2 separate regions of the Homo sapiens genome follow, and region 1 is linked to region 2. The links are contacts of gene promoters, found by promoter capture Hi-C in blood cells and fetal thymus (Javierre and others, 2016). All regions are on one chromosome and are shown on one strand. The core of a region is centred on a gene start or on the middle of the fragment in contact, and the rest is flanking DNA. Distances in the headings are between cores, read along the strand shown. Region 1 overlaps PRPF40B (pre-mRNA processing factor 40B). Region 2 holds the start of DNAJC22 (DnaJ heat shock protein family (Hsp40) member C22).

Region 1 (2,700 bases), core at 170-2,669, 280 kb after region 2:
TCCAGTTCTGACATTCTATGTTCCCTGAATAACTACTAGACCTAACTTACCAGTGGCCCCCTACTGTTTTGTAGGACTTGCCAAGACCATTTAGTCATTCAGTTAACACATACTTATTAGCACCTAGTTTGTACCCATAGATGGTGGTAAGGAAAACACAATGGGAACTGGATATGAGGTGAGCAAAAACAGATGAAGTCCCTGCCCTTCAGTGTTTTCAGTCTAGTAGGGGCCACGGATATTATATTTCATTAATTCTGAGACTCATATTTGAACATTTGTCAAGTCAGGATGCATCTTCAAATTGACAGGATATTATAATTTAATTGGCAGCATTTGTTTTTTATTCATGCCAAATAGAAAAATAATATAATCAGGATTATACAAATAACTATAAAATTCTAATGGATAATTGCCGAAGGAGAAGGTACATGGTGTTGTACAAGTATATAAAAGCGGGCTCTGACTAGTTCAGGGAGTTGGGAAAAGCTTTCGTGAAGAAATGATTGGTAGATGTGAAGTGTAGTAGGCAAGGTGTGTGGGGTTGGCAGGGCCAACCCAGTTTTCTCAGGCAAAGGTGGATGCCTGAGGTGGGAGAGCTGAGAGAAGGTGAGTAGGGCTGGAACTGAGACCCAGGAGCTCAGCATGGGGGAGATTGGCAAGGTAGCTGGGTAGCAGACCCCCTCATAGTACTGGGTAGGGGGTTTACTATTTACCCTAAGAGCAGTGGGAAGCCATTGAAGAGTTTTAAGCAGGGGGCTAACAGTCTGAGGTGCACTTTGAAGAGCTTGTTATAGCTGCTGATTGGAGTGGATGTGGGGAAAACAGTTGGGAGGCCACTGCAATTAGATGAAAAAAGATGGTGGCTTGGGCAAGATGGGTGGTGGAAAAGGAAATGGAGAGAAATGGATAGATTCAAGAAATCTTGAGGAGGTAAAGTTAACAAGACTTGGTGATTTATTGGCAAGGAAGAGGGAGTTGTGGAGAGTGACTCATAGGTTTCCATTTGGACAATTGAATGGTGTGGTGCCAGTCTCTGAGACGCTTCTGAGGCTCCCCTGGAGCCTGGTAGGACCCAAAGATGTTAGAGAGGCTCCTGAGGCAGCTTGAGATGGGAAAGTGTGACACAGAAAATTGTATTTCCTCCACTATTGATTAGTTTCTGACTTCCCATGCTGAGGAAAGCGTCAGGGGCAAGAGCAAGTCTGAATACAGAACTAAAGCAGTTGAGCACTTAGAAAAGATGAGTCACATTGGAGAGGTTTAGCTCATACCCTTTTCTTCTTAGGACAAGATGAAGGACAGTTTGTTGTTGTTGTTGTTGTTTTGTCTTTTTGAGAGTGTCTCACTCTGTCACCCAGGCTGGAGTGCAGTGGTGCAGTCTCAGCTCAATGCAACCTCCGCCTCCCAGGTTCAAGCAGTTCTCGTGCCTCAGCCTCCCCAGTAGCTGAGACTACAGGCGTGTGCCACCACACCTGGCTAATTTTTGTATTTTTAGTAGAGGTTTCACCATGTTGGCCAAGCTGGTCTCGAACTCCTTACCTCAGGTGATCTGCCCGCTTGGCCTCCCAAAGTGCTGGGATTACAGGCGTGAACCACCGCACCAGGCCAGGAACAGTTTTTTTTTTTTTTTTTTGGAGACGAAATCTCGCTCTGTCGCCCAGGCTGGAGTTGGAGTGCAGTGGCGCCTCGGCTCACTGCAAACTCCGCCTCCTGGGTTCACCTCATTCTCCCACCTCTCCCGAGTAGCTGGGACTAAAGGTGCCTGCCACCACGCCTGGCTAATTTTGTTTTTGTATTTTTAGTAGAGACAGGATTTCACCGTGTTGGCCAGGATGGCCTCGATCTCCTGACCTCATGATCTGCCCTCCTTGGCCTCCCAAAGTGCTGGGATTACAGGTGTGAGCCACCGTGCCCAGCCAGGAACAGATATTTTAAAGGCAGACATGAAGGGCGTTTTTAAATGCTGAGCATTCTCAACATAGGGGAAATTGGCAGCAGTGAGGTACCTTCTCTTCAGCCAGATACCACCTTTCCCCGGGATTCCTCCCTATCACCCCCTAACTTTCAGGCAAAGAGGCAGAAGGGCTGGGCCCTTTAGCTGCATCTCCAAGCCTCGGTTCACTTACAGTGAGTTTGTTTGTTTTTGAATGGGCAATATAGTCATATGGCTGCGTATTCAAAAGATACAAAAGCCATACAGGGAAAAGTCTCCCCTTTATCTCTGTCCCTTTCTACCATTTCTTGTGTATCATCTTTTGTCTCTGACTTTTATACAAATGATAAAAGTTTGCTGCACCTTGCTTTCTTTCCCACTTGTTAATACATCTTAGAGATCATATCGAGACAATAAGCTTCTTCATTCTTGTTTATAACTGTATAGCACTGCATTTTATGTGTATATATAATTTCATAGCTCCTTACTGGTGGCTATTTAGGCTGATTCCAATCTTCTGTTTTTACAAATAATACTGAAATGAAAACCTTAAACATACAGCATTTTGGCCATGTAGGGCTATACCTATAAAATTAATTTTTAGAAGTAGAAGGTTCTATATAGAGATTTGTTCTGTTTGTTCTTCGTTCGTTCAATATTTGCTGAATACCTATTATGTGCCAGATGCTGGTAGGTACCAGGAATACAGCTTCCAACAAGTCAGATATGATCCCTGTCTTCATGGAATGTTATTACACTCTTGT
Region 2 (2,700 bases), core at 146-2,645:
GGGGCGGGTGGCGGGGGGGAGAGGCGGCGGGGTGAGGCTGGCTCAGCGCTGGCACTCAGTGGGCGCGCAACGTATGTTTGCCGAATTGAAAGGCTGGGACACCGAGCGGCGCAGGGCAGAGGGTCGGAGGGCACAGGCGGGGTAGGAGATGGCCCAGACCGGGTGAGGGCAGAAGCCTCACTCACGGGGGAAGAAGGCACTCGAGGTCGCTCTGAGGACCGCTGGGCTGGGATAGACCACCCATCCCCCGCCGGGGAGACCCGGGTAGTAAAGAACAAGACAGAATGGGACAGGCAGGACGGTTTGGACCCCACCTACAAGCGCCTCCACCACCCCAGCCTCCGATCCTTGTCACGCTCTGCTGGGGAAACCGAGGCAGCCGATGCTGAGAATAGCCAAAAAGTTAAAAGCGGGGTCAGCGACGAAGCTGGGGCAGCAACCAGAATTCCTGCGTGGGTTTTTTGGATTCCTCCGCCCACGCGGGGCCAGTTTGCGGGTAAATGCACCACCGCGCCCCGCACCACAGCTCAGACCCTTTCCTCTCGCTGCAGTTTGTCAGATCCCCCCACCTCCCACTCTGCACCAGTTTATAGAACAACAATTTGGGGAAAACAATCCGGGCGGAGTGACGGCCCCGTAATTGTGACAAAGTGAGTGCGGGCGGCTGGAGAGAGCGCTAGGCCGGGAGCGCTGCAGGGCGAGGCGGAGGCAGGGGCGCCTCCCCCCGCCCTGCCGCCCCCTCGTTCTTATTCCGGTCACCTCCCATCCCTCTCCTTGACTCTTCAATTCCTCTTCTCCCGGCCCCTTGCGCCTTCCTTCGCTTGTTCCTCCATCGCTCTTCCCTTTCCTCCCGGTAACAGCTCTTCTCCCGCTCCCCCGACCCCGTCGCCCCTCCCCCGGTGCGCTTTTTCCTCGCTCACTTCTCCCCTCTCCTCTGCCCTCCACTCGTTTCTTCAGCTTTTCCTCGCGCTTACATTGCCCTTGGGCCCCTGGCTCTCCCCGCACAATCCGCTTCTCTCCCTCCCCACTCCTCCCTTCCTGAGATCGAACCCTGAGCCCCTTCCCGACCCCCACTCTCTGGGCCGCCAGCGCAGCCCCGCATTTCTGGGTTCCTCGGGAAGTAAACCTGGGGGCGCGCTGCGGCCCCGGGTGCCCCGGCGGCCAGCCCCTTCCCTCTCCCTTGTATGGCTGCCGCCCCCGCCCCACCACCTGAGCCGGGAGATAGTTTGTTTGTCCAGCGGCGGCCGCCGCCGCCCACGCTGTTTGCAAAGCTTAGCGCGCCGTCGCGCAGTGCGGGCCCAATTAAGTCTCATTCATTATTCAGCGCTCCTGTCCGCCCCCGCCCCCCAGCAGTCTGAGGCGTCGCTTTGGGGCCCCTCCCAGCCTAGGCCCCTCAGTGAGCCCTAAGAGGTCATATAGAGAGCAGCATTTCCTCTCCAGGCCGAGATGAGGGCTGAGGGCGTTTGGAGGGAAGCGCTCTGCCTACTGCCGGGAGGTGACACCCGCGAGGCCGACCGTCCCCCGAAGCCCCCGCAAGTCCAGACTGGGGGACCTCGGAGATCCACGAGATTGCCAGAGAAGGAAATTGAGGCCCAAGAAGCTGCATGACTTAGCCAAGTTCACGGAGTAGAACCCGGGATTGGAGCCCGGGACATTGAAATGAAGGCGTCTTGCATTGCAGCTCCGTTGCAGCGCAGAGGCGCAGGAAGGCAGACTACCACGAGCCTCGGGCTGCGGCCTCGCCCTCCTGGTCGAGCCTCCTGCCCTCCAACCCTCTGCTCCCGTTTCTCCCTCTGGTTCATAGCCCGCGGGACAGAGCAGCCCTGGATTGGGAGGCTCCTCAGGTCTCAGGCTCAGGTGCAGAAGCAGAGCCCCTAACTGGAAGGCTCGGAGGTGGGCCGGTGAGGCAAGCAAGCCCTGTGGGGGGTTGAGGACAGCTTGGGTTGGATGTCCCTCACTGCAGCCTGTCCGTGGATGTCTCTGCCTTAAGGGAATTGGAGGTGGAACCATCCAGTCTTGAAGGTCAACGGAGCGTGAAGAGAGGAGCGTGCAGCTTGAGGTGAGGGAGGAGTCACCTTTCAATTTGTGGGGGTGGGAGGAGGTAATCAAGGACGTATTCTTGCATTTACAGGAGTTTATCCTTTTTTTTAGCACTACAGATAGGAGCGTCCCTTGCTCCTGCCAGGCAGCCCCTCCATAGGGGCAGTCCTGTGCTGCTGTGCCTCGGTACCCGCACAAGGTGTCTGGGGACCGCCCGGACCCCCCCTTCCATCGGCGGCAGCGCCACCTGGCGGCCATGGTGCGGTGGTGTGGGAGGAGCTGGGCCCGGGCTGGGCACTGAGCCCACCGGAGCTGCAGGCGTCTGCAGAGCCTTGCACCGAGTTTCCCCGCGAGGGCGGGCGGGAGGAGTCCCAGGCGGGAATGTGATCCCCAGGGGGCCGGGGAGGGCCCTGGGGAGGAGCCTGGCCTGGGGAAGCCGGACTTCCGTGACACAACAGACACAAAAGACAAAGTCCATTTGGATGGAAGTGGGAGCAGGGCGAGACGGGCCATTTTCACTCTGTGGTCAAAGGAAATGACTGGTCTGACTCGGTCTGGGAGCGGGGCACCCAGGTATGGCCACTTGATTTGGAAGTAGCGGGTGCTGGCTGGTGGTCGCTCCAGATAGAGGGGACACTGGCAGGCACGCTTGGCGTCCAG

The links. Contacts are between HindIII fragments. The CHiCAGO score rates a contact against its expected background, and 5 or more counts as called.
Region 1: a fragment that was not itself captured here is called in contact with the fragment with the promoter of DNAJC22 in region 2 in 2 of 17 cell types (M0 macrophages and endothelial precursors); the score reaches 5.9 in M0 macrophages.

Annotation. Positions count from the first base shown.
Region 1 is chr12:49,626,945-49,629,644 of GRCh38, forward strand. All of the region lies in intron 1 of PRPF40B (pre-mRNA processing factor 40B), which reads left to right. Among named protein-coding and RNA genes, the nearest start is that of PRPF40B, 4.7 kb to the left of the region's middle. The HindIII fragment of the contact is 1,865 bases long and covers 488-2,352 here.
Region 2 is chr12:49,345,493-49,348,192 of GRCh38, forward strand. It overlaps DNAJC22 (DnaJ heat shock protein family (Hsp40) member C22), which reads left to right and starts at 1,396. Exons shown (of 4, transcript NM_001304944.2): 1 at 1,396-2,059; 2 at 2,152-2,613. RefSeq lists silencers at 1-40, 61-180, 2,213-2,432 and an enhancer at 2,095-2,700. The HindIII fragment of the contact is 2,270 bases long and covers 1,270-2,700 here.